Linked DNA regions of Homo sapiens: all the other regions are linked to region 1. The links are contacts of gene promoters, found by promoter capture Hi-C in blood cells and fetal thymus (Javierre and others, 2016). All regions are on one chromosome and are shown on one strand. Each heading gives the region's core, a stretch centred on a gene start or on the middle of the fragment in contact. The rest is flanking DNA. Distances are from core to core; before and after follow the strand shown.

The links. The method cuts DNA at HindIII sites, captures the fragments that hold promoters and counts their contacts. A CHiCAGO score of 5 or more calls a contact.
Region 2: a contact is called between a fragment that was not itself captured here and the fragment with the promoter of BCL11B in region 1, in 1 of 17 cell types (fetal thymus). The highest score is 5.8, in fetal thymus.
Region 3: a contact is called between a fragment that was not itself captured here and the fragment with the promoter of BCL11B in region 1, in 1 of 17 cell types (fetal thymus). The highest score is 11.3, in fetal thymus.
Region 4: a contact is called between a fragment that was not itself captured here and the fragment with the promoter of BCL11B in region 1, in 7 of 17 cell types (activated CD4 T cells, total CD4 T cells, naive CD4 T cells and 4 more). The highest score is 12.1, in activated CD4 T cells.
Region 5: a contact is called between a fragment that was not itself captured here and the fragment with the promoter of BCL11B in region 1, in 1 of 17 cell types (naive CD8 T cells). The highest score is 6.4, in naive CD8 T cells.
Region 6: a fragment that was not itself captured here is called in contact with the fragment with the promoter of BCL11B in region 1 in 2 of 17 cell types (M1 macrophages and fetal thymus); the score reaches 5.8 in M1 macrophages.
Region 7: a fragment that was not itself captured here is called in contact with the fragment with the promoter of BCL11B in region 1 in 1 of 17 cell types (naive CD4 T cells); the score reaches 5.4 in naive CD4 T cells.

Annotation. Positions count from the first base shown.
Region 1 is chr14:99,270,048-99,273,923 of GRCh38, reverse strand. It overlaps BCL11B (BCL11 transcription factor B), which reads left to right and starts at 1,727. Exons shown (of 4, transcript NM_138576.4): 1 at 1,727-2,763. The coding sequence starts at 2,706. RefSeq lists a silencer at 1,801-1,880. The HindIII fragment of the contact is 13,366 bases long and covers 1-3,876 here.
Region 2 is chr14:97,772,970-97,776,887 of GRCh38, reverse strand. It overlaps LOC105370651 (a long non-coding RNA gene), which reads right to left. Exons shown (of 5, transcript XR_944186.4): 3 at 2,806-2,959. Among named protein-coding and RNA genes, the nearest start is that of LINC02312, 12 kb to the right of the region's middle. The HindIII fragment of the contact is 2,252 bases long and covers 592-2,843 here.
Region 3 is chr14:97,794,581-97,798,414 of GRCh38, reverse strand. LOC105370651 (a long non-coding RNA gene) reads right to left here. Exons shown (of 5, transcript XR_944186.4): 5 at 845-1,035. Among named protein-coding and RNA genes, the nearest start is that of LINC02312, 34 kb to the right of the region's middle. The HindIII fragment of the contact is 1,711 bases long and covers 702-2,412 here.
Region 4 is chr14:97,990,146-97,993,866 of GRCh38, reverse strand. No RefSeq gene overlaps it. Among named protein-coding and RNA genes, the nearest start is that of LINC01550, 14 kb to the right of the region's middle. The HindIII fragment of the contact is 2,116 bases long and covers 904-3,019 here.
Region 5 is chr14:97,698,775-97,702,553 of GRCh38, reverse strand. No RefSeq gene overlaps it. Among named protein-coding and RNA genes, the nearest start is that of LINC02291, 14 kb to the right of the region's middle. The HindIII fragment of the contact is 2,073 bases long and covers 1,238-3,310 here.
Region 6 is chr14:98,148,291-98,152,450 of GRCh38, reverse strand. All of the region lies in intron 2 of LINC02295 (long intergenic non-protein coding RNA 2295), which reads right to left. All of the region lies in intron 1 of LOC105370655 (a long non-coding RNA gene), which reads left to right. Among named protein-coding and RNA genes, the nearest start is that of LINC02295, 14 kb to the right of the region's middle. The HindIII fragment of the contact is 456 bases long and covers 1,632-2,087 here.
Region 7 is chr14:98,012,878-98,016,691 of GRCh38, reverse strand. No RefSeq gene overlaps it. Among named protein-coding and RNA genes, the nearest start is that of LINC01550, 37 kb to the right of the region's middle. The HindIII fragment of the contact is 2,358 bases long and covers 876-3,233 here.

The sequences.
Region 1 (3,876 bases), core at 478-2,977:
AGGGCGAGGAGGTGCAAGTCCGCGCCCCGCCCCCGGTCTCCATCCGCTCGGCCTCGCGTCCGCCCACCGTGGAGCCCACAGTTTACAGAACTGCAAGCCAGGGCACATTTTATTGTTATTATTTTTTAGGGTATGGGACTGGAAGGGATCTCTTTCTGTTCTCGCTCACGGACTCTGGGCGCTGTTAAATTGTTGGTGCCATCGCCCCACCCAAGACCTTCGGGACGAAAACAAAAACCCCCGTGTGCCCCCCGAGGAAAAGGCCCCGAGGGAGGCGGCGCTGAGGCGTCACGGCCTCGCCATGCGCCCGGGTGAAGCCGCCGGAGCCAGGCCTGGGGGCGGAGTGGGGTGGGTGCAGCTGGACTCGCCCGCGAAGCCTAGCCGGAGCCAGGCCCCGACCCGCCCTGGCCGCCTCCAGAGAAACCCTGAGAAGGGAGAGGAGGCCAGCCGCGTGGCGCGCCCAGCCCTGGAGGCCAGGTCATCAAATTGACAAAGTTGGCCACAGCCTGGGGAATGGGGGGTGTCCACGGGGGCCGTGGTCTGGCCTTGTCCCCGGGCCACGGAGAGGCCCCACAACTCCTCTTGTCCTCGCCGGTTGGAGATCAAACGGCTGACAAGGCAGCTGCGTCCTTCCCAGTCTGACAGGCATTTCCAAGTCCTACCCTGGGCCGAGGAGCGCGGGGGGCGGGGTGTGACTTCCAGGTTGCTGTGATTGTCAGGGGCGCCTCCTGGAGTCACCCACCCGAGTATCTGCGGAGATTTGGCCACACCTACTCCTGGGCTGGCAAGTCCAAGTCCCTCTCCCACGTGGAGCGCCCCGGTCCCTTTACCCTCTCGCTTGCCATAGACCCAGTTTAGGAGGTGGGGTCGTGTTTGACCCCAGGAGTTAATCGGGGTAAGGTGAGGGGAGGGGACAAAGATTTGAGTGAAAATCCTTTTCCAAGTGGGACTCAAACAAGGTCTCAAACACTTCTCACCCCCTCACGTGCTCTTGATTCTGTTGTCTTAGTGTCGTTTATTTTGTCATCCTCACCCTCCCAGAGTCTGTAATACCAGGATTTATATGGAGACACTTTTTGGAAGTTGAACTCCAACATCTACTCCCCTCCCCTCGCCGCCCGCGACCATAAAACAAAAGTAAAAACTACCAAGCGACTTTTCCAGGGAAACGAAGCGATTCTTACTGTCCCCCCAACTCCCATGTCGACCCCAACCCTTTTCCACAGTCCACGCCCCCACCCCCAAAGTCCAAGTCCGAAAGAGCTTTTGGGTGGGTGGAGACTTGCATTGATTCAATTTAGTTCACTCACACAGCACCCCGCCCCCCTTCTCAGGGGGTCCTGCTCCCAGGATGGAGGAGATATAAGGACGATTTTTCTTTTATTTTAAAATAAGCTGCCCAGTGGCCCCCCCCAACCCCCTCCCGCTGTTGCGCAGCCGGGGCTCGGGGGAGATGAGCGCACAAAAACGCGGTTTGCACGTGTGTCCGGCTTGGGCTGCGGGTGTGCGCAACTGGCGACTGTGTGTGTGTGTGTGTGAGTGTGCGCGCGCGCGCGAGTGTGTCTCTGTGTGTGCTTTCTTGTTCTCTTACAGGGTACAATGTTAAAAAGCCACCGCTAGTCGCCCCCAGTGCTCCGACTCTCTGGGTCTTTTTGTCTCTAGTGCAGATTAAACGTCACGTCCGCACTTGAACTTGAATTTTATCCCATTGTACAGAGGCAGCCCCAGCCATAGAGAGACCGAGAGCTCCCAGAGAACCCGGACTCCGCCATCTTCACGTTGCAATCTATAGCTCCCAGTCTGCGCCCGCACCGACCCAGGCGCACTGGGCGAGCCGCCCCTCCGCCCCGCTCCCCCCGGGCCCGCGGCGCCAGGGGAGCGCTGGGGAGCGCTCGCGGGGACTCGGCAGCCCCTCCGGCCGGCGCCAGCCTGCCAGGTGAACTGGGAAGGAGCCTCTCCTGGTGTCCCCCCAGAGCCTCGGAAGGGTCAGTCTCCGAGAAAAAACAAAAACAAAAACAAAAACAGGCAGCCCGCAGAAAACCCAGAAACAACCGAACCGGGGCAGTTTTACATTGCTTTGGGTTTTTTGAGGGGGCGGGGTGAGGGGGTACGAGACAAGTCCCCAAGTTTTCTTTGCTTTTTTTTTTCCTTTGCTTTTTCTTCTTTTATTTTTTTATTTGTTTGCATTTTTTTTCCCCTCCTGGTAGAAGTGCGCTTTCCACCTACCAGACCCTGAAAGAAAGTGTCAGGAGCCGGTGCAAAACCCAGTTTAAGTTCAAGAAGACATTTGCAAGTGCAAGAGGCCAAGCAGTTTGAAGAAGTGTAAGAGATTTTTTTTCCTTCGAAAGAATATATTTTTAAAGAAACCAGCCAGTCCGCGGAAAGCAACAGCAGTTTTTTTTTTTTTTGCCTCTTTTTCTTATTTTAGATCGAGAGGTTTTTCTTGCTTTTCTTCCCTTTTTTTTCTTTTTGCAAACAAAACAAAAAACAGCATAGAAGAAAGAGCAAAATAAAGAAGAAGAAGAGGAGGAAGAGAGGGAAAGAGAGGAAGGGAAAAAAAACACCAACCCGGGCAGAGGAGGAGGTGCGGCGGCGGCGGCGGCGGCGGCAGCGGCGGCAGCGGCGCGGCGGCGGCTCGGACCCCCTCCCCCGGCTCCCCCCATCAGTGCAGCTCTCCGGGCGATGCCAGAATAGATGCCGGGGCAATGTCCCGCCGCAAACAGGGCAACCCGCAGCACTTGTCCCAGAGGGAGCTCATCACCCGTAAGTGTCTGCGGAGTGCGCGCGAGGGGCCGGAGATGGGGCTCCGGGCGTCTGGGGCTGGGGACACCGAGCCCGGAACAGCCGAGCCTGGCCAGGCGCCGGGGCCGCCCGCTGGCTGGCAGAGTCTACGGCGTCGGCCTGGAGCATGGCGGGGGGCGGGGGCCATAGGAAAGTTTCTTTGCAGCCCGGGGAGTTGGGGCGCCGAGCAGCCGGACGCGCCTCGGGCTCGGGGGCCTGCGGAGCCGGCTCCGGGCCGGGGAGGGGGCATGCAGGCTGGAGGAGTGTGTGTGTGTGCGCGCCGAGCCCGGCTGGACGCTCGCCCCTCCGAGCGGCGTGTGTGGCGGCGGCGGCGCTGGTGGCGGGGTTTGGAGAGGAGGGGGAGGGGGCTGGGGGAGCGGAGGGGGAGGGGGAGCCGGGAAGTGGGGAAAAGTTGGCGAGCGCGTGGGTCCGCGCTGACGGCGCGGGCGGAGGAGAGCGGGGTGCGTTCCGGCTGGGGGAGCCGTAGGGCCAGGGGCGGCCGCCGGCTCCGGGTCCCCGGTCCCTGCGCCCGGCCCAGCAGGGTGCCGGCCGCGCCAGTCCTAGGATTCCGCAGCCGCCTTTCTCTCCCCTCCTCCTGCTATTTGCAAAATAATCCAGCTGCGCGGCTGTTTGCCGGGCTCAAGCCCCCCTCCCCACCCCCCACTTCCCCACCTCCGTCTGTCTCCTGGGATGATCTTGTCTTCTTTCCCCCACTTCAAAAAAGGTGGGGGGATTGGGGTTGGTGAAAAATCCCCGCCACGAGGAAAAAAAAAAAGGTTGTCAGTTAGGAGTGGGAAGAGAGTGATGCGCTTGTAAAATAGTAAAAGAAAAAAAAGAAAAAAAGGAGACCCATCAATCTCGTATCCATCTTTCTATCTCAGTATCTTTCATCTTTCCTATCTAAATAAACAAGGCAGGTCGCAGTGGAAATCCACCGGCTGAAATCGTGTCGATTTCAAGCATGTGGCTGGGCGGGCAAAGTCAGGCAGCGGGGCAAGACAAGCAGCAGCTTCCACCGTCCCTGTTGGGTTTATTTAGCAGAGGGGAAAAGCGAGCGCGAGCGGGCCAGGTACGGTGTTTGCAGGGGAACCCGCC
Region 2 (3,918 bases), core at 468-2,967, 1.5 Mb after region 1:
GGAGGGAAGTAATTTCAGATATCTGAAATTACCCAGTCCCCTGTGTGATCCTGCTTCAACTGTGAGGTGTTTAAAAAAAAAAAAGATTCAATGACACTCGTGAAAGCACAGTAGGTGGCCCATGCTTAGGACCATCACAATAAGCACGAGGACCCCTGCAATGAGATTTTTAGTCAGGGACAGAGATTGGGCTCAGCTCTAAATACAGCATGAGCCAATGAGAATTTATGGCCAAGGAGCAGGGCAGGGTCAGTGGATGCAGAGGTACTAAGATAAAACGTCAGCGGGGAGGATTCTGGCCAAAGCAACCCACTCATGTAGATGTCCATTCACCCCGTAGACTCTCATGCCTCATGCGTTTTTCAAATGTTGATGATCAATGTGATGTATGCAGGATTCTCACTAAAGACAAGCCAGGGTGATCAGGCAACACCCAGGGGATGATGGAAGATGAGGAACTTGATCAGAGGTTGAGGATGATCAGATATCAAGGGTGATGGGTTCTTGCTAACCTGACTTAGCAGGGTTCTTTGATAAAACTGGATTTTACAAGGAAGTACAGAGATGGGCTTAAGAGAAGGTCCAAAAGCTTGACTGAAGTTTGGACTAGCAGAACATATTTGTCAGAGGCCACCCTTGCCATGGGGCCCATGGTGATACTTTCTCCCTCAGGGTTTCCAGGAGTTGCCCAAGAGATGGAGCAGGAGGACAAGAGCCCTTCCCCACTCCTCCGCTCTTCCACTCAAAAGCCCCATCTGGCTGAGGGATGGCACTTTCCATTCCAGTCCTAGGAAGCCATGAGGAGTTAGGAATAAGTCCCCAAATGATGCTTTTGCATTCTCTTTCCCACCAAAATATGATCGACTGTTGAGACCTGCCTCAGACCTGAACCTGGCATCTCTACCATGCATCCCTGGAAAATAGCACATCCTCAGCAAAACCTGGGATACCAGCTCACCTCACCCCACCAGGATCCTCTGGGATCCTTGCAAGCCCCTTGCACTGTGATCCTTTATGGTCCCTGCCTTCTGGATACTCCTGTCACTGGGCAGTGTTGCTCAGAACCCTCCCTCCCCTGTATCTGTCTCTCCAGTTCAGCCTAAGTTCCTTGAGGGCAGGAGATATGCATGGTTTTAATTAGCACCACCATCCCTGGGGTCATGCCCGGTAAGTACAGTAATCCCCCCATCTGTATTTTCACAGTTTCAATTACTCACGATCCACCACAGCCTGAAAATATTAAATGGAAAATTCCAGAAACAGTTAATCAGTTTTAAATGTTGCATTGCTCTGAGTAGCATGCTAAAATATCATGCTGTCCTGTTGCATCTCACTGGGGCATGGATCATCACTTTCCACCATATTCCATGCTGTCTACGCTACCTGCCCATTAGTCACTTCATGGCTGTCTTCGCTATACTGACTGTCATGACATCGCAGTGTCTGTGCTCAAGTCACTCTTATTTTACTTCGTAATGGCCCCTCTGAGCAACGATAGTGGTGCTGGCAATTCGGATAAGCCAAAGAGAAGCTGTAAAGTGTTTCCTTTTTTAATTTTTTTGAGTTGGAGTCTCACACTTGTCAGCCAGACTGGAGTGCAATGGCACAATCTTGGCTCATTGCGACCTCAGCCTCCTAGATTCAAGTGATACTCTTGCCTCCGCCTCTCAAGTAGCTGGGACTGCAGGCATACACCACCACGCCCAGCTAATTTTTGTATTTTTAGTAGAGACAGGGTTTCACCATGTTGGCCAGGCTGGTCTTGAACTCCTGACCTCAGGTGATCCGCCTGCCTTGGCCTCCCAAAGTGCTGGAATTACAGGCGTGAGCCACCGTGCCCAGCCTGTAAAATGCTTCCTTTAAGTAAAAGGTGAAAGTTCTTGACTTTTAAGGAAAAAAAAAATTATATGTTGAGGTTGCTAAGATCTATTGTAAGAATAAATCTTCTATCTGTGAAATTGTGAAGAAGGAAAAAGAAATTCATGCTAGTTTTGCTGTCATATCTTAAACTGCAAAAGTTATGGCCCCAGTGCGTGATAAGTGCTTAGTTAAGATGGAAAAAGGCATTAAATTTGTGGGTGGAAATTATGAACTGAAATGTGTTCCAAATGATGGAAATAGGGTTAGGTACTACCCAGGGTTTTAGGCATCTGCTGGGAATCTTGGAACACATGCCTGGCGGATAAGAGAGGTCTACTATAGTTCAGTTAACATTCTTGTAAAAAAAGACTTTACCTCCAAATTCTCATAGATATACTCACTACCCAGGACAGTTTTCTAACTTTTCAAGAAGGCCTGAACTGTCAAAGCTCCTTCTGTGAGTGTGGAAAAGGGAGGCTATCCACCAGGTTTCTCGGCAGACATTCCAACCTTTGCCAACATGTAAGTGGGTATGCGAGAGAGGACGGAGGTTTTGAGGTTTTGATGCAAGACCAATGGACTGTTGTGCAAGCCAAGGTGGTGAATTAGTGACACCCAAAAGGTCACGCTGCCCTGAGTTCACGGTCTGGCCTCCATGCCCCCAAGTCCTGTCTCAGTCTGTGTGTTTAGGCTGGCTGGAGCCTCCCAGCTGTGCACCTGCCCCTCCTTAGACTTAACTGTACCAACGGGATGCTGGTGGCTGGACTGATTGTCTATCACTGTCTCATCCTTAGGCTTCTCAAATCTGGAGATGTAGATCATCAGAGGATGTTTATTACAAATATTAAAATCAAATGTGCAAAGCAATGAAGCTGCCCTGATATGCAAATATGCAATCTTTTCTCCTCTGCCCCCATGAGAAATCTAATAGGGTAGTGGACTTACAATTGGGTTTTGGACCCCACTTTGTCACTTATTAAGCTTGCAACTTTGATGAAGCACAAAATAATGGTGTCCTCTGCTCACGTCATCCCATCAGTCCTGGCTCATGATAGCTAGTCAATGTTGACAGTTTCCACTAGCGAGTTCTTCCATGGGCCTCAAAGAAAACAGATAAGTAAAAAATGAATACATATTTCATATGCACACATGCATGACTCATGTACGCGAACATTCAGCCCTGTATGCTCGAATGCCTAAAGTATTTTTCAAATGTTGATGATCAATGTGATGTATACAGTGGTGATTAAAAGCCTGGTCTGCCTTCAACCTCCCTGAGTTTAAATCTCAGCGCCCCCACCCCACCATGTACCAGCCATATGACCTGTGTGTGTCACATTATCACATTCCTTACAAGAGTGATGTGTCATCTACCCCTTGGATGATGCTTCCAGTTGCTAAGGACGTTGACCACTGAGCCAGATTTCTCTGAGCCAAATCTCAGCTTTGCACACTGAGACCTTGGCAGAACACTGACCCTGTCTCGAGCTCAGTTTCCGAATCTGTGGAACACAGGTAGCCGTCATGACTAACTCCTAGGGTTGCTGTGAGAATGAGATGAGTCAATACTTGCACCACTTTTAGAGCAGTGCCCAGCACCTCAGACTTTCTCTAAGGGTTGGCTGTGTGGATTAGGTGGGATTCATGGGGATGAGAGAGATAAAGCACTTAGAACAGCAGGATCACAGACAGGATCCAAAAAGTGTTGGCCTTTGTCCTTGTTGTAGTGCTGGTTTTGGTGTTGTTATTTCTGTTTTACAGATGCGTGGAGGCTCCACTGGATCATTCATGAGCATGTGGCTTGCAAATGACACAGGGTGGTTCAAACGGCTGATACTGTCTGCAGCAAAGCAGGGGTACCTGGGCAACACGAGACACAGTGGCATGTTTTTCTTAGAAGTCCTGGCTGCTGGTTCTGCCATGTGAACTAGATTTAAACATGGGCTAGAAGGCATCTTTTCAAAATCTTTTCTTAGTTTTCCATAGCTGTATAGGGAAAGAAATAAGAATATTTTGAACGACCTACAAGGCTCCTATGATCTGTCCCCTGCCCACCTC
Region 3 (3,834 bases), core at 308-2,807, 1.5 Mb after region 1:
TTGAAGCCAAGCAAAGATAAAACAGCTGATAGAAGACAAAGCCCTAGAAAGGCAGTATTGGGGCCTCTTCACCATGCAGCAGGACTGACAGGTGGGCATCAAAGGCGGACGAGGCAGGCTGCAGAGTGGCTCAGGTGCTAGGCAGCTCGGGGCGCGGGGCTTTGTTCAGTCTGACTGAGCAGTCAGTCTGCTTATACTGAAAATGCACTATGCTAAGCAGAAGGCAGTCCTATATTTAGATTTTTCTTTTAATCTTGAAAGAGAAGAAAACAGTAACAAAGGACTTCCTTGTCAAATCCTAATGCAAGTTGAACTTCTAAAGACTTGGAGGAGGTGTTCATGACACCAAAGATTTTACAAGCACTGACACAGAAAACTGAAGTAGGGGGGAAAAAAAGAGGCTTCTCCCCTTTGTGTTTTTGCTTGCCACCAGAGCCATGAGATATCAGCTCAGTCTCATGGGGAGTTTTTGTGTTTAAAATTTTGCACAATATTCGCAGCTGCATTTGATCCTATGGTGCACTCCAGGGTGGGGGTTGAAAGGTCTTTCCTTTCACAGGTCTGAGCCTTGGAGAGGTCCAGGGTGTTCCTCAGGGTTAATCAGCTACTGAGTGGTAGACTCAGACATGAAGCCCAGGTCAACCCATCCTGGTCCCGAGGAAGTAGAGATGCTCGCCTCTGATGAAACAAGGCCACAAGCTTTGAAATCCTACTTAAATTGAAGCCCAATGTCATCCTTTAGGAGCCAAGTAATCTTGAACAAGTCTCCTATCCTCTCGGAGCCTCCATCTCCTGAGGGACAAAACCAGCATCTATTTGAAGATTCAATGAGGTAACCCACATGCCCAACATGGCGCCTGGCACCTTGTGATGGCAGCAGCTATCCGCATGAACTGATAGGACCCAGATGACAGAGTGGGTGGTTCTGAACAGAGAACTTCTCCGGGAGTGTGGAGCCCTGGCTGGGTTCTCGTTCCTTGCAGAAGGGCTCTCTCAACACTTCTGTTGCACCGGGATCCTAATAGTCTGTGAAAACTGTGGTAGGAAGAGATATTGGGGCTGAGGTCTCTGAGGTTTCTGCTCTACAAACAGGAATATTTTGCCCTACTTTGATTTAGAACAAGTGGAAAAAGGAGACAAGAAATCAAATCGTTCAAAGCCAACATATCTCTTATTGTTACCAGGTTCAGGGAGAGGGCAGAGCTCAGAGTGAGAGGCAGATAGACCTGCTAACGGAACTCCAGGAAGAGGCCCATTTTGCCTCCAACCATAGGCTCTGCTGGACTGAGGCTCACCTGTCCATGAGGGCAGGCTAGGGAGACCCTGCTTCTTGGAGCAGGGAGAATGTTTTGTTCTATGCATACTGCCATGCATATTCAGGAAAGCAGCAGAAGGAAGCCAGGAGAGGGATGCTAAGATGCTTTATTCACCTAGAAGGAAAAGTAAGAAAGGAGAAGTAGCATTGTCCTGACTTAAACCAGATTAGCATGCTCCTAACACAGTGGGCTTGAAAATTCTGTGTGTGACGCCACTGTGCCCAGAAAGAAGGTGAACAGATCAGCAATCTATCTGGTTGATCCGTCCCACATTCATAGGCTCCTTGCCTGATACCAACCCCATTCTCCTGTCTGGGCCCCTGGGGCTACTGGGGTGCAGTTTAGATTTTGCCACTAGAAGGCTCTGAGGTGGGTTAACAGCAAGGAGGCTTCATCTGTCGAGGCTGAACTTGACTCATTTCTCTCTTCCTGCTCTGAAAGATCTCCAGCTGCGTTGCCAAACCAGCACAGACCCTACAGGGAGATGAATGACCCAGGAAGACAGGAAGGTAACAAGCACACAAGGTCACTCCACTGAGCAAACGGCAACATTTGAGCCTCCCCAAATTTGAATATAAACCTCTCCTATTATCAAGGTCCCACTGAGAAGGTACAATTTGAAGATTACATCCCCTTGCAAGTTGGATCCCAAAGAAATTAAGGACTGATATCGTGGGATTGTTGGTCCTTTCAAGTTCAAAGTTCAAATCTCACAATTCTTAGGTGAAAGCGCCAGAATTCTCTTCCCTGATTTAATTTGCCCCTCAGCCTTGGCTTGGGATTCCTTGAGCAGCAACAGCCTAGGTCATTTTCTGCTGAAATGAGTGTGGTTACTTTAGGACTGAGAGGAAGGCTTGGTGCCACGCCAATTCACTTAGGAGCCTCTCTCTACTTAAAGAGTTGAAAGAGTTAGTAGGACACATAGGACTGAGAAGGCTAACACTGTTTTCCTCACCACAAAATGCCAAAAACATTCCAACCCCCAACTCTAAGGCACTTTCTCTTAGTTATCCCAGAAAAATGAAGTTTCCCAAGCCCAGCTCTTAATATCCAAGACTCTACAGCAACTCTGTGGAGAGGGCAGTGGAGAAAAGCTTCCCGGTTTTGCCCCATTGGGTTGCAGTTCATTCATGTCAGTCATCTGGATCCCAAAAGGTGGCACCTTAAATTCAAATGGGGAAAATCTTTCTTTGACAATTTAATTTGCACAAGGTGCACTTACCACCATGGAGAGGAAGACCTATTTTGACATCTTGTCTGCATTCTCAGAAAGGGTCGGCTGCCTTTCCTTTCCATTGGAGAATTCTAAACCTCAGAATTCTCACTTTCCCTCTTGGCCAGTGTTCCTCCTCCCACTATATTCAACTGAGGTGGGCTCTGTCTAGTGGGATTCTCCCATGCAAACAGGAATTTTCTGTCCTGGGGCCCAGTGGTGGATTGCACTCTCCTGCTATAAAATGACTTAGCAGGGAGACACATGTCACCAGTCCACATGTTGGCTCTCACTGGAGAATGATGCACAGGACATCACTACCCTTCTGTTTCTATACCCACCCTATGAACCTTTGGGCCCACTGATGCCTAAGTCTCTGCCTGAGCCGTGATTTCTCAGCCTTGGCATGTCCCAGACATGAGTAGCATCTCTGCCATTTCTTTCTCCCCAGTAGTGAGTTAAACCTCTATCCTCCCTTTAATCATTTCAGAGAAACCAGCTAGTTGTAGAGCTCTGGATGAGCACACCTGGCCTTGACCTGCACCTGAGCTTGAACATTTCTCTTCCCGGAGGGCACACAGTAGCCAACCACTCTGCAGACAAATAGCAGTACATGAGCCTTCCCCTCATGTGTGCAGAAAGGCCTTATCTCTACTAGTCCAATCTTTGCTTCTATCATGCTTGTTTAGGAAGAGCCATGCCTGCCCCTGGAGCTGCTACGCCTGTGGAGGGCCTCTACCCTCGCTGAGGCCTTTGTCTCCTGCACATGTATTGTTCAAGGTCAAGGTGCACCTACTGCTGCCTGTGACCACTCAGTGCCCACGCCTTTGCTGCAGCCAGCATGGCTGGCATTTGCTTGCAGGTCCCATGTGGACTGTATCTGCTAAGGTCACCTACAATGGCCACAAGCCCTTTCAGAGGTTCTCATGTGCCTGGTTTCTTTTTGCTAAAAGCCATTCATGTGGCCCCTGGGCCATTTTGCAGTGAAAGATGTGCAACTTGAATGTAAAGATAGTCGCTGCACCATGGACAAGGTCCTCACGGCTGTGGTCATCCACCAAAGTCAAATTACCACTTACCCTGAGACCTGCAGCCCCTACTGGGGCCCTAGCAGTTAAAAGCCAATGGCACAGCTGTTAAGGCCCACCTGGCCCTTCTGAGGTATTGCTGACGGCCAAGGTCAAAACACTCCACATATAAAATGTAAGGCCCACCCACCTGGCCCCACTGAAGCTACAGTCACTCCAGATCTATATTGTGTCATGAAATATTTCAGCAATCCAGACAATTGCACCCAATCATAGA
Region 4 (3,721 bases), core at 712-3,211, 1.3 Mb after region 1:
TATAGAGGCATCAGCTGAGGTCACAAAGTAGGTTGCCTAACACATCTGATGATGAAAGAGAAGACTCTCTAAAGATGTGTTCAGTTGAGTGGAAAGGATGACTATAGCTCAGCTAGGGCTTACTGTATTATTAGTATCATTATTGTTATTTTTGCTATCATCATCATTTTTTAAAGTTAACTGCAAAGGAATGGACTTAAGGAAGAGCATGTAAAATTTAGGGAATTAGAAACACAAGAGATGGAGAATGAGGAAGCTGCTCCTGAAGGCCCCAAAATCCGAGTTTAGGGATTCACATTTCATCGTAAACTCAGTGAGAAGTCCCACGTGGTACTCATAAAGATGCATGAAACAGTCAGCCCAGCATTAGGAATCCATCACTTTGGTAGCCATGGGGTAAGGAATAGAATTGTTCTTACCCTATGTGTGGAGAGAAGATCAGCCATGTGTCCAAAGAGTCCAACTGTTTTGTCTTAGAAGACACAGGCACAAGGTATTTGCAATTGTGTCTGCCTTCCTGTCATCTGAAGAAGGCCCCTCCTGGGGGTCCAGTGTTTGTCTGTGATATTATTTCCCACAGTCCCACCAAGCATAAAGGATTACATCGATGCTTCCTCTCATTGATGATGAGGGCAAAGGTGCTGGGTCCAGCAGGCACCTTGGGGAACTGGAGCAGATTTGGGGATCTGTCCTTCCTGGCCCCAGAGAGACTGGTTTGGTTCAGGGACCCCTGGGGCCCCATTTGAAAAGTGGCTTTTCTCATTTCCCTTTGATCAGGCAGTTCATGGCATATTTGGAAGGACAAGGAGTGATTTGTCTTCCACATGTGTTTTCATTTATTCCTCAAAGGCAGAGCTAAAGCATTAAGCAAGAATACAATAAAGTCCAGTGGGCAGACAAGCTTCAAACAGTCTCAAAGGGTATGTCTAAGATAAGCTCATTTGTTTATAATCCATGTATTTTTTAATAGTTTATGAAAAATACAGGTGGTAAACTTACATCTGGGTGAATAAGGGTAGAAGTAAAATACAATAATGCCAGGCATAAGGTCAATTCTGAAAAAGTTTCCATAAATTCCTGTGTAATTCACCAATGGGAGCCATTATTTAGGCAGGAGCTTCCTAGTAGCCAGTAAAATAACGAACAGTGTTTCATAGGTAATGGGTAAAAGAACACTTACTTCTGATACATAGAGCTAAGGGAAATCACACTGGTAGTTCTTCACAAAGGGCACATTTTCTAATTAAGTAAATAATGTTTTTAGTAATATTCTGACTGCCATTGACTATGGGTTTCAGAAGGTTATTTAAAATGATGCAAATTGACTTGATTTTCATAGCATTCCTTGACAGCCTCTGATGTACAAGGGTGGTAAACTGCAATAATGTGTTCAAATATTTTGCCGCCCTTCTCTGGATGATGCTACACCACTGCCTGTTGCTATGGGGTGTGTGGTGCAACATCCCAGGAAAGCATCTGCTCTCCCCATCCCAGTGGTACCAAGTTTGACCACATCATGTGACACACGCCACTCCCCAGAAGAGAATCTAAGGACCACTGCATCATTCTGCCATGAACTCATTTCCTTCTGCCTCAAGAAGGTCAAGTGCCAGAGAGGAGCTGTACATATTCAGCCCAGATCTCAGTACAAAGGAGACACAAGGAGGAGAGCTCCCATTGACCCACGATTGACATATATGCAAGCAAACAAGAAACCTTTGTTGTAGTCAGCACCTGAGATTTGAGGATTGTTTGTTACTTCAGCATGACCTGTTAAAAGATCTCATCATACTGCTTTATCATGACGGATGCAGCTTTATCAGTGCCTTGGGGTGATAGAGAGATATAAAAGACACAATTTTTACCCTCTGCAAACCTGCAATTTAGTAGAGTAAACTACATGTTTAAAAATAGGCTGAAGGCTGTAAGTGCCACCTTAGATTCTCAAAAAGTATCATGGGAATCAAGTCCAGATGCAAGAAAAAATATATACCTAAAAAGAAAATTACTTCCTTAAAGAGCAGATACTGAGAGAATGAGCAAGGTTAGAATGGAAAAGGTAAACTTCTGGGAGTAGGCATGGCAGGGATTTTGGGGGGAAGACTCTATTTAGCAGAGTGTGTCCTGGGAATGGAGAGAGAAACGTCTCAAATGGAGCACTCAATGAGAGGAAGATTATGATAGGAAATAAATTTGGAGATCAGAGAGCTGACAGAGAAGATAATAATTTTTAGTGCAGTTTACACTTAAGGTAACAAAGTTTATTGAGGGCCTGCTTTGTGCTAGGCATCGTCCTCAGTATTTTAAAAGTCTCACTTTATTTAATCCAAACAACAGCACTAGGAGACAGAGGTTCTAATTGCCATTTTGTGTAGAGATGAGGAAACTGAGGCTCAGTCCTAAAGCAAAATAATTAGCAAATTGCAGAAATAAAATTTGAACCTCAGTCTTCCAGGCTTCAAAGCCCATGTGTCTTTGTTGTCCAGGCATACAGATGGATGACTGAGGGTCTTCCATACCATGGTAATTATTGTGTACTTCACTTAATGTGCAGTGGAAATCTACTGAAGCCTTCCGAGGTTGGGGAAAAGGGTGACACTGATTTGGCCTGTGTTTCAGGAAGATAATTTTATTAGCCATGTTGAGGCCAGCCTGGATGTGGTGACTGGGAGCAAGTAACAGGTAAAATGCAGCAACAATAATTCCATATATTGGTCACTAATTGTCCATTTAGCTATCATATGGAGGAAGTTGACTTTAACAGGTCTTACAAATGCCTTCAAAGAGGGTTCACAGGCCCTATATCCCAAGAGATTTTTCAATTTCTTAGAGGTGTTTCAAAGAACAACAACAGTAACAGTCAGTTTTACTAACCATCTTCCCTTCCTGTTCAGTGGAGTTTGTATGTAGATCTACCTGAGACAGAGGGTTGAATCCTATAGACTCACAAGGCCCTTCCCATCTTGTAACCATAACCCCTTCACCTTTATTACTCATATAGACAAAACCTAATTAAGCTTTTTTTCTCCAGATCTCTGAGCATCTATATAATGAGAGAAAAGTGTTGGAATTACAATGAGAAGTGTGAGTCTTAGCATTTAGTGGCTTTCTGTGATATGCTTTTAGGACTTTTCCAAGGGAAGATGAAATAAACATCCTATACCCTGTCCTGGGAATCTGGTCTGACCTGAGACTAGCCCTCATGAGGATGCTGGCAGGGCAGAATGTTCACCATAGTAACACAAGCAAGGGAGAGGAGAAAGGAAGAAAGAAACTTTTGGGCATTTGTAGGGGTGGGGGAGGAATTTAGTAAAGCTCAATGGAGTAGGATAAAGGGGAGATTCCATTAGTTGGTAGGCTTTGATAATGAATTATATGACTGATCGGCCACTGTTTCAGCAAAGACAGATTCTTTGGATGGCACGGCCATGGCAGGAAGAATAAATGGTCTTTTCTAGCATTAGGCAGCATTGATCTCTTGAATAAAGGGTTTTGAACACAGCTCCCGTGGAAGAACAGTGTGCTTGGCACACAGACAATGCTTAAAAAATATTTGTTGCTGGGCTGGGCAGAGTAGCTTATGCCTGTAATCCCAGCACTTTGGGAGGCCAAGGTGGGTGGATCACGGGATCAGGAGATCAAGATCATCCTGGCTAACACGGTGAAACCCCGTCTCTACTAAAAATTAAAAAAAAATTAGCCGGGTGTGGTGGCACACGCC
Region 5 (3,779 bases), core at 1,025-3,524, 1.6 Mb after region 1:
AAACAGCATATTTTAATGTTTCAATTTCCAGACAATTTACACTATGGTTTGAGAAACATTGTCCAAAGTTTTAGAAAATTACTAAAAGAAAACTGCAAATTTAACTTGTGGCCTTCTCAGGGGCCCAAACAATCATAATCAGTTAAATACTCTAAGAGTTTACCAGCTAAGAACAGACTAAATCAGGAAAAGCAGATACTTTTTTTCTCTTTTTGAGACCTGAGAGAAATCCCTCTTAGGAGCAACCTCTGAAAATCAGTTAGACATCAACAAAGTTACTGGCCTGCAGATGGATGCATAGCCAGGGCCACAGCAAATGGCCGGGCAGGCTGGATGCTCTGCATCTTCAGGGGCCTGACTTTGCAGGACTGTGATGAAACTGAGCCACTCAAGTTGCACAGTGTGCAACCTGCGTGCAGATTCACAACAGCCTGTTCGAGATCTGCCAGGAATCTCTCTGTAACGTGATTAAGAAGAAAAGTTACTCAGGAGACCTGGTCACACAGTATGGATCATATGAAGACTTTGGCCACTGTGAGTCATCCCAGAAGCAGCAAATAATCTATGGCAAGCCTTCTGGTCTATGTACCTGGCACCATCAACCTTCAGATGTCCTTAAGTGAGACCTGGGCACCTCTGCAAATATTTCCTTTTCCTTTTTCTCAACACCCCTTTTATATTTAGGTAGGCATTGCCATTGCTTCTGCTACAGTTTCTCTAATATGTCTTAATTTAGTGATGAGTAATTTTTTAAAAGATTTATTAACATATAATTTATTTACCACATAACTCATCTTATTTAAAGCACACAATTCAGTGATTTTTAGTATGTTCACAAGTTTGTGTAATCATTGCCACAATCTAATTTTAGAATGTTTTCCCCTACTAAAAGTAGTACTCCCAAATGTATTAGCCATCAATTCTCATTTCCCCCATTTCTCCACCCTCACCCCAGCCCTACACACCACTGATCTACCTTCTAGCTCTATAAATTTGCCAATTCTGATCATTTCATATAAACAGAATCATGAGATATGTAGCTTCTTTTACTTAGCGTGATGTTTTCAAAGTTCATCCATATCATATCATATTTCATTCCTTTTTATTGCCAAATAATATTCCACTTGGTTGACTATATAACATTTAATATATCCATTTATTAGTTAATGGTTATTTGTGTTGTTTCCATTTGGGGGCTATTATGGGTAATGCTGCTATGAACATTCTCATATAAGCTTTTCTGTGGACATTTGTTTTTACTTTTCTTGGGAATACCTAGGAGTGGAGTTGCAGACTCTTGGTAACTCTATGTTTACCTTTTTGAGGAACTGCCAAACTATGTCCGAAAGTAGCCGTGACATTTTGCATTCACACCAGCAATGTCTGCATACTCTTACCAACAGAGGTTACTGTCTTTTTTATTCTAGCCATCCTAATGGGTGCGAAGTGATACTTATGGTCTTAATTTGCGTTTTCCCAAAGACTAGTAGTGTTGAACAGCTTTTCTGTGCTTATTGGCTATTGATCGATCTCCTTAGGAGAAATTTCTATTTAAATATTCTGCCCACTTTTTTAAACTGGAGTATTAGTCTGCCTTTCTATTGCTGACTTGTAAGAGTTCTTTATATATTGTGGATGTAAGACCCTTGTCAATATTTTCAAGTATCTCTTAGCAAATAGTTTCTCTCATTCTGTGGGTTAATCTTTCACTTTTTTCAATCTTCACTTAGTGGCACAAAAGTTTTCCATTTGAATGAGACCAGTTTATCTTTTTTTTCTTTGCTCACTTGTGCTTTCCATACCATATTGACGGCACTGTTGCCCTGTGTATGGTCATGAAGAACTATGCTTATGTTTTCTTCTAAGCGTTTTATAGTGTTACTCTTGCATTTATGTTTATTTCCATTTTGAGTTAATGTTTGTGTAAAACATGTGACTGAGTCCAACTTCATTCTTTTGCATGCAGATGGCCCATTGTACCAGCACTGTTTGTTAAAAAGAGTATTCTTTCCCCATTGGCTGGTCTTGATGCCAATAATCAATTGACCACAAATGCAAGGGTCCATTTCTGGATTTTCATCTCAGTTCTATGGATCTCTATGCCTACCTTCATGCTGGTGCTTAATAAATTCTTCACATGCCTACTAACTCTGTTTAGACCAAGGGTTGGTGAATTGCAGCCCTGGGAATCCAGAGGCAGATGAGTTCTCTGGGTCTACTTAGGCAAGTAGTAGTCTTTTTCACACCAACAGAAGAGTACCCAGGGAGCAACTTCCAAATTGTGTACATCTTGATGTCTTTCATTTCTTGTTAAAAATACTTAACAAATTTTCCCTTTATCCTGAAGGAAAATCCAAACTTTAGTAGACTTCATAAATCTTCTCATAATATGGTTGTGGATTGCTTCTCCAGGCTTACACCCCAAAGAAGATTGCATAAAGATGGCCGTTCTGCATGGAATGGAATTCTCTGCAGAAGACACACAGAAAACACGGGCACACAGCCAATATATTCTACTTGGAATCCGGGATACTTGCTTTGCCCAGTACAATGTAGCAAAACTTGGTGCTGGACAGATTCTGAGTTCAGACCTCAAAAAAAACATATAGGCTCTGATTTCTCTTTTACAACCCTGATAAGTCAGAAAATAAGAAAGCCTGAGATAAACTGCTGGATGATTGGTTGCCATGTTGAGAAGATAAGAGGCACTGCATCTGACAGCAGCCAGTTTCCAGAAAACCTAGCACCTGTCTTCAGATGCATGAGTGAGGCCCAGCCAAGATCAGCTAAGTCTGGCTTAAATTAGCAGAACTACCCATTCCAAATCTGAGCTCATCTCAGGTTGCTGACCAGCAAAACTGTGATCCAAGTAAGTGGTTTTTGTTTTTTACGTCATTAAGTATCAGGGTGACTTGTTACTCAGCAAAAGCTAACTGATACAATCCTCTTAACCTCACACCATTTTTTTCTCACTGTTAAACTTTTGCACATAGTGTCTTCTTTTCTTAGAAGACCTTTTCCAATCTCCTTATCTTTCTACTCATCTTTTAAGCCTCTTCTCTGAGGAGTCTTTCGTGGTGCCCATACCTGGGTAAATAACCCTTTCCCTGAGCTCCCAAAGCTCCCTAGGTTCCTTCTAGCACTGCCTTGTTACCCTGTGTTTGACCTTCTCATTTACTGGTCATAACTCCTCCCCTGCAGACAGTAGAAAGTACCAGCATGCATAGCTGAACTTCATTACTGCAGGCCAAGTGTCAAGATTCATACTTGAATATCATAGGAAGGTAGATGTAGACATATCACTGAAGCTTGAGAGGTCAGGATAAACAGCCTGGAGGATATTACCTCTGGAGAAATGTCGAAGTTGGTACAACCAAGTGTTTTCCAGGTAAAAAGGCCCATGTGAAGAGCTTCAGGAAGGAGAGAGAGAATGCCATATTTGAGGACTGGAATGCGTTCAGGTTTTTGTCTGATGGGGTAGAGCACAGGTAAAGGCCAGGAGTCATCAGGAGTCACCGGCAGACTAGGATCAGCCACCTGGATCAAGTCAGCCAAACCTCTCCTTCCTTTCAGTTCTGTCTATTTTCTTTATGCTCGTTCTTTGGACAGAATACAGTTGTTTTGAAAACCTCAGTCTGATTCCACTAGGCTAGGAAGAACTAAAAAGTGGATTCAGTTTTCAAGTGGCTTCAGCAAGTTCTTCCTTTCCTGGTATCCAGGCCAGTGGCAAAGATTTTCTTCCCAGATTAACAGCAGGGAGAGGAGAGGTGTGGCCCAGA
Region 6 (4,160 bases), core at 610-3,109, 1.1 Mb after region 1:
AGGGTTTTCCTTGAATCTCAGCCTCCTCAGTGGTAAAAATGAGATGAAACAGACCTAAAAGATCTTTTTATGCTAACTAGAGGAAATAACAGGTGTATAATCTCAGGCATAAGGTGGGACTTCAACAAGGGTGAATCCTTCCCTTTCTGCCTCTGAAGGCAAATTTATTCCTATCGTCTTTTTTTATGTGTTTGTTTTATCTCAATGCGGTGGGAAAACTTTGCAATACATATTCAAAACCACTTAATTATTCTTCAAACTTTATTTTGTGTATAACACTTATTAGTTACATAAACAATCATGACTTTGAGGTGCCCTTATACCAAATGTGCCAGAACACCATGGTTCTTTGTCCTTATATTTTCTAATTTTTGAAAACAACACTTTTTTGTCTTTCTCTTTCTGGTTGGCCTGCTAATAACCAATTCTCTGAGTAATAACACTTTTATCAGCTACTGCAGTCTCCTATCCTTTTGAGCAAGCTTAAAAAACAAGTGATCATTATAAAATTTATTGATTCTGAACTAGAGTTTCCCATATAATTAAAGAAATTGTCTCTTGAAAAGACTGGGCTGTGCTGAGGACAGTTGAGGACTCAAATGGGCAATGCACACATAGGGGTGTTCAAGCCCTGAAGTGCGGAATCAGAATAATGACATTTAAAGTCCTTCACATTCTCAGATTGAATGACTCACAAGACCAGTTATTATACTGTAATTTATTCCAATCCTATGCCGTCAGTTGAATTTCGAATAAAGAATTCATCAGTATTTACGTGAGTGCTTAGTAAACCTCTGAGAAATATTTCATGCAAGGTGTTAGGTCACCTTGCCTATGACTGGGTTGTATCCCAACCTTTTTACCCATCCCCTCTGGTTCCCACTGGAGTGAGTGTGTGTCTTTCTGGAGCATGGGGCGATCTCCAGTAGGCTTGTCCTCAGCAGGGTGTTCCAGTTATTTTAGGTGGCCTCATAGGCCTATGTCACCTCTTTCCAGATTGCTCACACATCTGCTGTTTCTTGCAGTGTCAAACAGATAAAACCATTTCTTATGTGTGCTGTAATATAAGAAAGTTAGGCAAGCACTGCTAGATGATCCCTCAACCTACAAGAGTATCTGCTGCTAATGCCTATGGTAAGGATGCCCTTACATGGTGTATCTTCATATTCGCCTCTTCTTATAGTAAGACAAAAGGAAGGCATGACCTTCCTTGCTTGACTCTAATATCCTGGCACATCATCTAAGAAGCTCCCCTAACACACTCTTGCTTAAACCATTTGCTCTTTTGCTTCATCCAGTTTGCCAAAGCAGAAGAAGACAATGTAGGTAGATTATGGATTAGATTATATGATCTGCAGTCCAACAAGACTGTATGATTTATCATCCTGATACTTGTTAACTATGTTACCTTGGACACAGACTTTCTTCATTTCTTTAGGTCAGTTTCTTCATCTTTAAAATGGCACTATTAAAGGAAAAGATGTGTGCGTGTGTGTGTGTGTGAGGAGAAAGAGAGAGAGAAATGTAAAAAGCTAAATATTGATACAATTTAACCATTTTAGAAAGTACCATTTAATGCCTTTACTCCTTTACCAGTGAATCTAAAGACATACTCAAGTATTAAATAAGCTTTCTCTGGAAACACACTATATGCTAGAAATAAGAGATTGAAAGACAGATATCTATTTTATGACCCATTACCTTATTGATCAGTGGGGGAGAAACATAATATGTAGATAACAAAATCAATTTTGTTCTTTGTACATAAACATTTACTTCCTCTCCACTTTTGCAGTTCTGAAGAGTTTATATCCCATTTCCTTGACATTGAGGTTGATTGTATGATTTTCTTTGGCCAACAGGACGTTTAAAAAAATGTAACATTAACCTCATTTATGTAAGAGCTTTTAGAGGCAGTGAGAGTTTCAGCCAACTCCCTTATTCGTGATATCTGCCATGAACAAACAATATTCAGCAGGCAGGGGCTCTTCCTTTAACCTGGGTCCCAGTATGAGAAGACCCAGGAAGCAGATCCTCATTCCACTAGAAGATTGGAGGGGAGCCTTTGAGCACAGAGCTGCAAAGCTTCAGCCTACCTAAGGCTGGCATGTAACATGGGGTAACAAATAATTGGAAGTTATCTGTTACACAGCATCATTACAGCACAGCTGACAGATACAGATAAGAACACAATAGTTACATATTATAAGCCAGGAAGTGTAAGACTATTGAAAAGTATTTAGATCTATCCTGAGGTGACAAGGAGAATTTCTTTCTTTTTTTTTTTTTTTTTTTTTTTAAGATGCAGTTTCACTGTTGTTGCCCAGGCTGCAGTGCAATGGCACGATTTTGGCTCACTGCAACCTCCGCCTCCCAGGTTCAAGCAATTCTCCTGCCTCAGCCTCCCAAGTAGCTGGAATTACAGGCACGCACCACCACGCCCGGCTAACTTTGTACTATTAGTAGAGACAAGGTTTTGCCATATTGGCCAGGCTGGTTTCAAACCCCTGACCTCAAGTAATCCACCCATCTCGGACTCCCAAAGTGCTGGGATTACAGGCGTGAGCCAGAGCCGAGCCAGGGAATTCATAGAGAGGTAACATTGGAAGTGTGGGTCAAGAATGATGGCATGAAGAGTACATTTGTTTAAATGCTGACAATATATTTGGTGAAACATCAAATATGTTATCAATGAACAGTCCACCAGTCAGCTTGGACAAAGGGCCAACTAGAAAAGTGTGTTCAATGAATAAGTCATCTCTTGTGCATTTCTCTTGAGTTTGGGCTCTGCAATGGCACAGAGATTGAGGACATCATTCTGGCCTTGACTTGCTTTGAGTTCTTTCAGGAATTCAGACATTGGTTTGTAAATCCAGAGTTTAAGCTCAATTCAATTTTGAAGAAAACACAAAATGTGACCTCAGCATCAACATGATCCTTGTAGAATTTCCTAACACAAACTAATACCTATCTAGAAAATCACAAATGCGTACTTTTGTTGAGGTGCTTATTCTTAAACAGGTTGTTATATGCATTTGAACATGAGATACAATTATAATATTTCTTTATAATTCTAAGTCTCTAATGGTTTATGTTTATCAAGCTTGTTCAACGTAAATTTTTGAGATATATGTACAAGAAATTGAATGCTGTCTCTTTATTACTTGCTATTATATGACTTGGGGAAAATCATTTAACTTCTCAAAGACTCAGTAGTCTTATCCTAGAAACTGGGCAATTATTTCGTATGTAATGTTATTATTTTGAAAAGCAAATGAAACAACACCTGTAAAAGTACCTGATGTAAAAACAAGTACTTCTTATCCTACCTCTCTTCCTTTCTTGAAATACATATGGCGTGTGTGTATTTTGTATGCATTAAATACTGATACGTGTTCAAAACCCAGCCAAAAGTTAGAACTTAGGAAAAAAATGGGCTGGGCACGGTGACTCATGCCTGTAATCCCAGCACTTTGGGAAGCTGAGGTGGGCAGATGACTTGAAGTCAGAAGTTCTAAACCAGCCTGGCCAACATGGTGAAACCCATTTCTACTAAATATACAAAAATTAGCCAGGCATGGTGGCGAACGCCTGTAGTCCCAGCTACTCAGGATCGCTTGAGTCCAGGAGGTGAAGGTTGCAGTGGGCCAAGATCGCACCACCGCACACCAGCCTGGGTGACACAGCAAGACTTCATGTAAAAAAAAAAAAAAGACTCTATCTAGGTAATAAAGAAACATGTCTCTATTATCGGCCAATGTTTTCTTATTTGCAGTTCTCTCCTTCAAAACCTCTAACTCTGGATATAGCCCCATGCATTTCTCATAGCCTTTGTCTCATGTCAATGATGATCACTTTAAACATAAGGGTGGGTAGCATGGTGGGCAGGTTCAGTAAACAAGCTTGCCTGGAGTATGGGTACATTTCTGAAAGGCTCCTCCATAAATAAAAGATTAGAGTAGAAGGGAAGTATAGGGCCCATGATGAAGAGTGAAATCAGCTTAAGTATCTGAAATTTGCTCTGTGGTCAATGGGCATCCACTGACCATTTTTGATTTAGACTGGTATTTTCTAGTGGCTAGTAATATTATTACCAAAAAAAGACTGATATTTGATCATTTTTGTTTGGCAAAATTCTGAGATAAACAAATAATTATTTA
Region 7 (3,814 bases), core at 805-3,304, 1.3 Mb after region 1:
CCCAGATGAAGCTAGATGCAACTATTTTAGACATCTTGGAATTGGATGGATTTTAAAAAAGCAATCAGGGAAGAAAATGGAGGCTTAGTGAATTGCACGAGGAAGAGCACTGACTGGTAGGTGCCTGGGCAAGCCTGGACAGGTGGGAAAGTGGGGAGAGGACTGGGAGTTAAGAGCATGGGCTTTGGTCCTAGCCCTGGCCCTGATCTTAGGTAGGTCACTTTTCTTTCCTGCTATGGACCTCAGTTTCTTCAATTCTAAAAAAAAAAAAAAAAGCAATTGTCTAAGATCAGGTAAAATGCCTTAAAGTCCGAATTGGTTGCATATTCATCTATTGATCTTTAGGAGACCTTCTGCAGCTCAGAAGTGATAAGAATAGAAAAAGGCCCTCTATATACAAGACATCTTTTTGCAGATGAGGGTCTTGTCAGTTACACTACAGATATGCGATCTCATAGGAACCTCATGAAGCATTGGTTCTAATGGAAAAAATGACCTTTAATAGTGAAACTTGACAGGAAGCTGAGGTGGGAGGATTACTTGAGGCCAGGAGTTCAAGAGCAGCCTACACAACATAGCAAGGCCACATCTAAAAAAATAAAAGAAAAAGGTTTCCTGGTGTGGTAGTGTGCACCTGTAGTCTCAGCTGAGTCGGTCACATAGGAGAGATTAAGTAAATGCCTGCAAAACAAATAAATGGAAAAGCAAATTTGTGAATGAATGAAGGAATTACTAGGAATGCATGAAATCCTATGGTAGAACACACTTGATTAGGGAAAATACAACAAAGCAGTGGCAGTGACAAGATTAGAATTCAGAACCAGCCTAAGAATTGTTGAGATAGTATTGCTAAGCTAAACCTTTCAAGAGAAGCTTTGAATTTAAGGCAAATGCTAACCAATGGAATTATACAATGATAACTCACCTTGGGAAAAAAATTAATTTTCATGTTAGCTAATAAAGCTGATAGCATTTAGATGGACTTTTAATGGAGAAGCCTAAAGGGGTAAAACATCTCTGACTATTTATTCTTAACAAAAGTCAAAAATTAAAATACAATTTTCACTGGTACGTTGCTGAGGCCAAATCAACTGGAAGTAGGTATTTAAGGGTTTACTCTTTAATTTTAATTTGTTGAAGGCAGTCTAGTGGAGGTAGTTACACATTGGAGAGTGAAATTGGCAAACCCCATTAGTCACACAACAAAACAGCCATGAATATGGTTTCTCCAAAGACTTTCTCCAAATGCCTCTCCCTCAAAACCGGGCCTCTATCCAACTTCAAACAGGGAGTCCCAGCTGCCTCTCTTTGTTTCCAGACAAGCACCGTCCATGAGTTTCTGATGGATACACCCTGACCTCCTTTCCCCAGGGCTAGGAAGAAAACACTTAATTCCTTAGTCCCAAAGCATCACCTTTCTCTTTAAAGTGTGCCATTGGAAACAGAGCCTGTGGCTCAAAGAAAACTTGCAAATCTTCCAAGGTAATATGGCTTGACAGTGGCAAGCCATAGTTCTTGATGATGGCTTGGAATATGGACTTGAATGTTAGCTTTAGACAACTGTAGGGGAATTCAAAGTTTGCTCACAGCCATGCTTCCTCAAGATGGAATTTGAACAAAGGATGGTATTGAGCAATACTAGAGCAACCAACCAGTCTCTCTAGGAAGGGCTCACACTCTTAGTGAAATCATTGCTGGATCTTAGAGGCCTAGCACTGTCCCCTGGCTTCTGGCTTCTCAGTGGACAGGAGAGTCGCCTACAGTAGGTGGTCTGCCTCAAGAGGATCTTCCCCAGAAGAATGTGAAATTCAGTGAAGCAAGAGGAAGCCTGACTGGGTCACATATGTATCATGAGGGTCCACTCAGAGCCTAGTAGCAGTGAGATGATGAGAAGATGGATAGGTGAGTGAATGGATACATTAATTCATTCATCTTTTCTTTAGAAATAAAGGGCATAATGGGCCGGGCACGGGGTGGCTCATGTCTGTAATCCCAGCACTTTGGGAGGCCGAGGCAAGCAGATTGCCTGGTCTCAGGAGTTTGAAACCAGCCTGGGCAACATGGTGAAACTCTGTCTCTACTAAAACACAAAAAATTAGCTGAGCGTGGTGGCACATGCCTGTAGTCCCAGCTACTTGGGAGGCTGGAGGCACAAGAATTGCTTGAACCTGGGATGTGGAGGTTTCAATGAGCTGAGATCAAGCCACTGCACTCTAGTCTGAAGGCTCTGTCTCCAATGAAACAAAACAAAACAAAACAAAACAAAACAAAACACCAAAAAAAAGAGAGAGAGAATACGCTTTTTTTTTGTCTGACAGACAAGGGTGCAAAACTAGTGTTTAAAACCATGCTCTGCTGAGGACCTGAGATTATTGATCTACAGATTTTCATCTGTAAAATGAAAATTGATGAAATGCTATGGTGTTATTCCTAAATTAATGCCTGTCACATATGAAAGAAAGAGAAGAAAGAAGGAAAAAGAAAGAAAGAAAGAAAGAAAGAAAGAAAGAAAGAAAGAAAGAAAGAAAGAAAAAGAAAGAAAGAAAAAGAAAGAAAGAGAAAGAAAGGAAGGAAGGAAGGAAGAAAGGAAGGAGGGAGGGAGGGAGGCAGGCAAGGAGGGAGGGAGGCAAGGAGGGAGGGAGAGAGGGAGGGAGGGAGGAAAGGAGGGAGGAAGAAAATCAGTTAGCTTTTTGCACCCCTTTTTAATTTTCCAGTCTTCACTGTCAGGACTCTATCACCTATTTACCTACCCAACAAGTCCCACCACTAACTATGGGATTTTGGGTGAGCCATTTAATATTTCTGAACTAAATTATTTTAAAATGAGGAAGGGAGCCAAGTATGGTGGTATATGCCCATTGTCCCAGCTACTAGGGAGGCTGAGGTGGGAGGATTGCTTGAACACAGGACTTTGAGGCTGTAATGTGCTATGATCTCACCAGTGAATAGCTACTGTACTCCATCCTGGGCAACATAGTGAGACCCTATCTCTTAATTTTTTTTTTTTTTTAATGAGAAAGGTGATGACTGTCTCCAGCGAATTTTAAGGAATACTTGAATTCTATAAAATTCTGTAAATTCAGTAAAATGCTATTTGACTCTGAACGATTGATTTGGTATTGATTTGTCTTGGTGTAACCTAAAACAAATCTGGGATTTCTATAGAGGCTTGAGGTCATGATAGAAGTTCTTAGTTTCCTTCAGGAAAGTTGAAATCTCTAATATGATAAGCTTATATTAATTAACTAGGGAAACCATTAGCAAACACAGTAAATAACCAAATACCAAATGCTAAGTTCAGGGTTTAATTGCCCCACCTGTATTCACAGAAAGAGCAATCCATAAAAATACAAAGGGGTGGAGTTTGAGTCTGGGTTTAGAAGAACCTGCCAGGCAGCTGGTAAAAATTGCCTTTCTAGGTGAATAAATGAATTAAATAAATAAAAGAAGTTTTGGCACCCCAATGAAAAATAAACCACCGGAGGGTTAACATAGTTGGAGAAGGAAAATATGAATGATTATAATGATTGTGTCAAATACAGCCATGAGATAAACAATTGCACAAACAAAAAAATGGATACCACATGAGTATCACCCCATGCCTGACTGCCATTTCTACTTCTGCGATTTCAAGTTGAAACATTTAACCTCCATTTAAGACTGAGAACACCAAAAGTGGGTGGGGAGAGGGGAACGTTGATTTGCATGAATTCTATGGCCAGTGAGTGCTGGGAGGCAGTCTAGAATTTGTATCTCCTGACTACCATTAAAATCTTCTCTCCCGTTTATTATTACCTTTTATCTGCACTCCTGA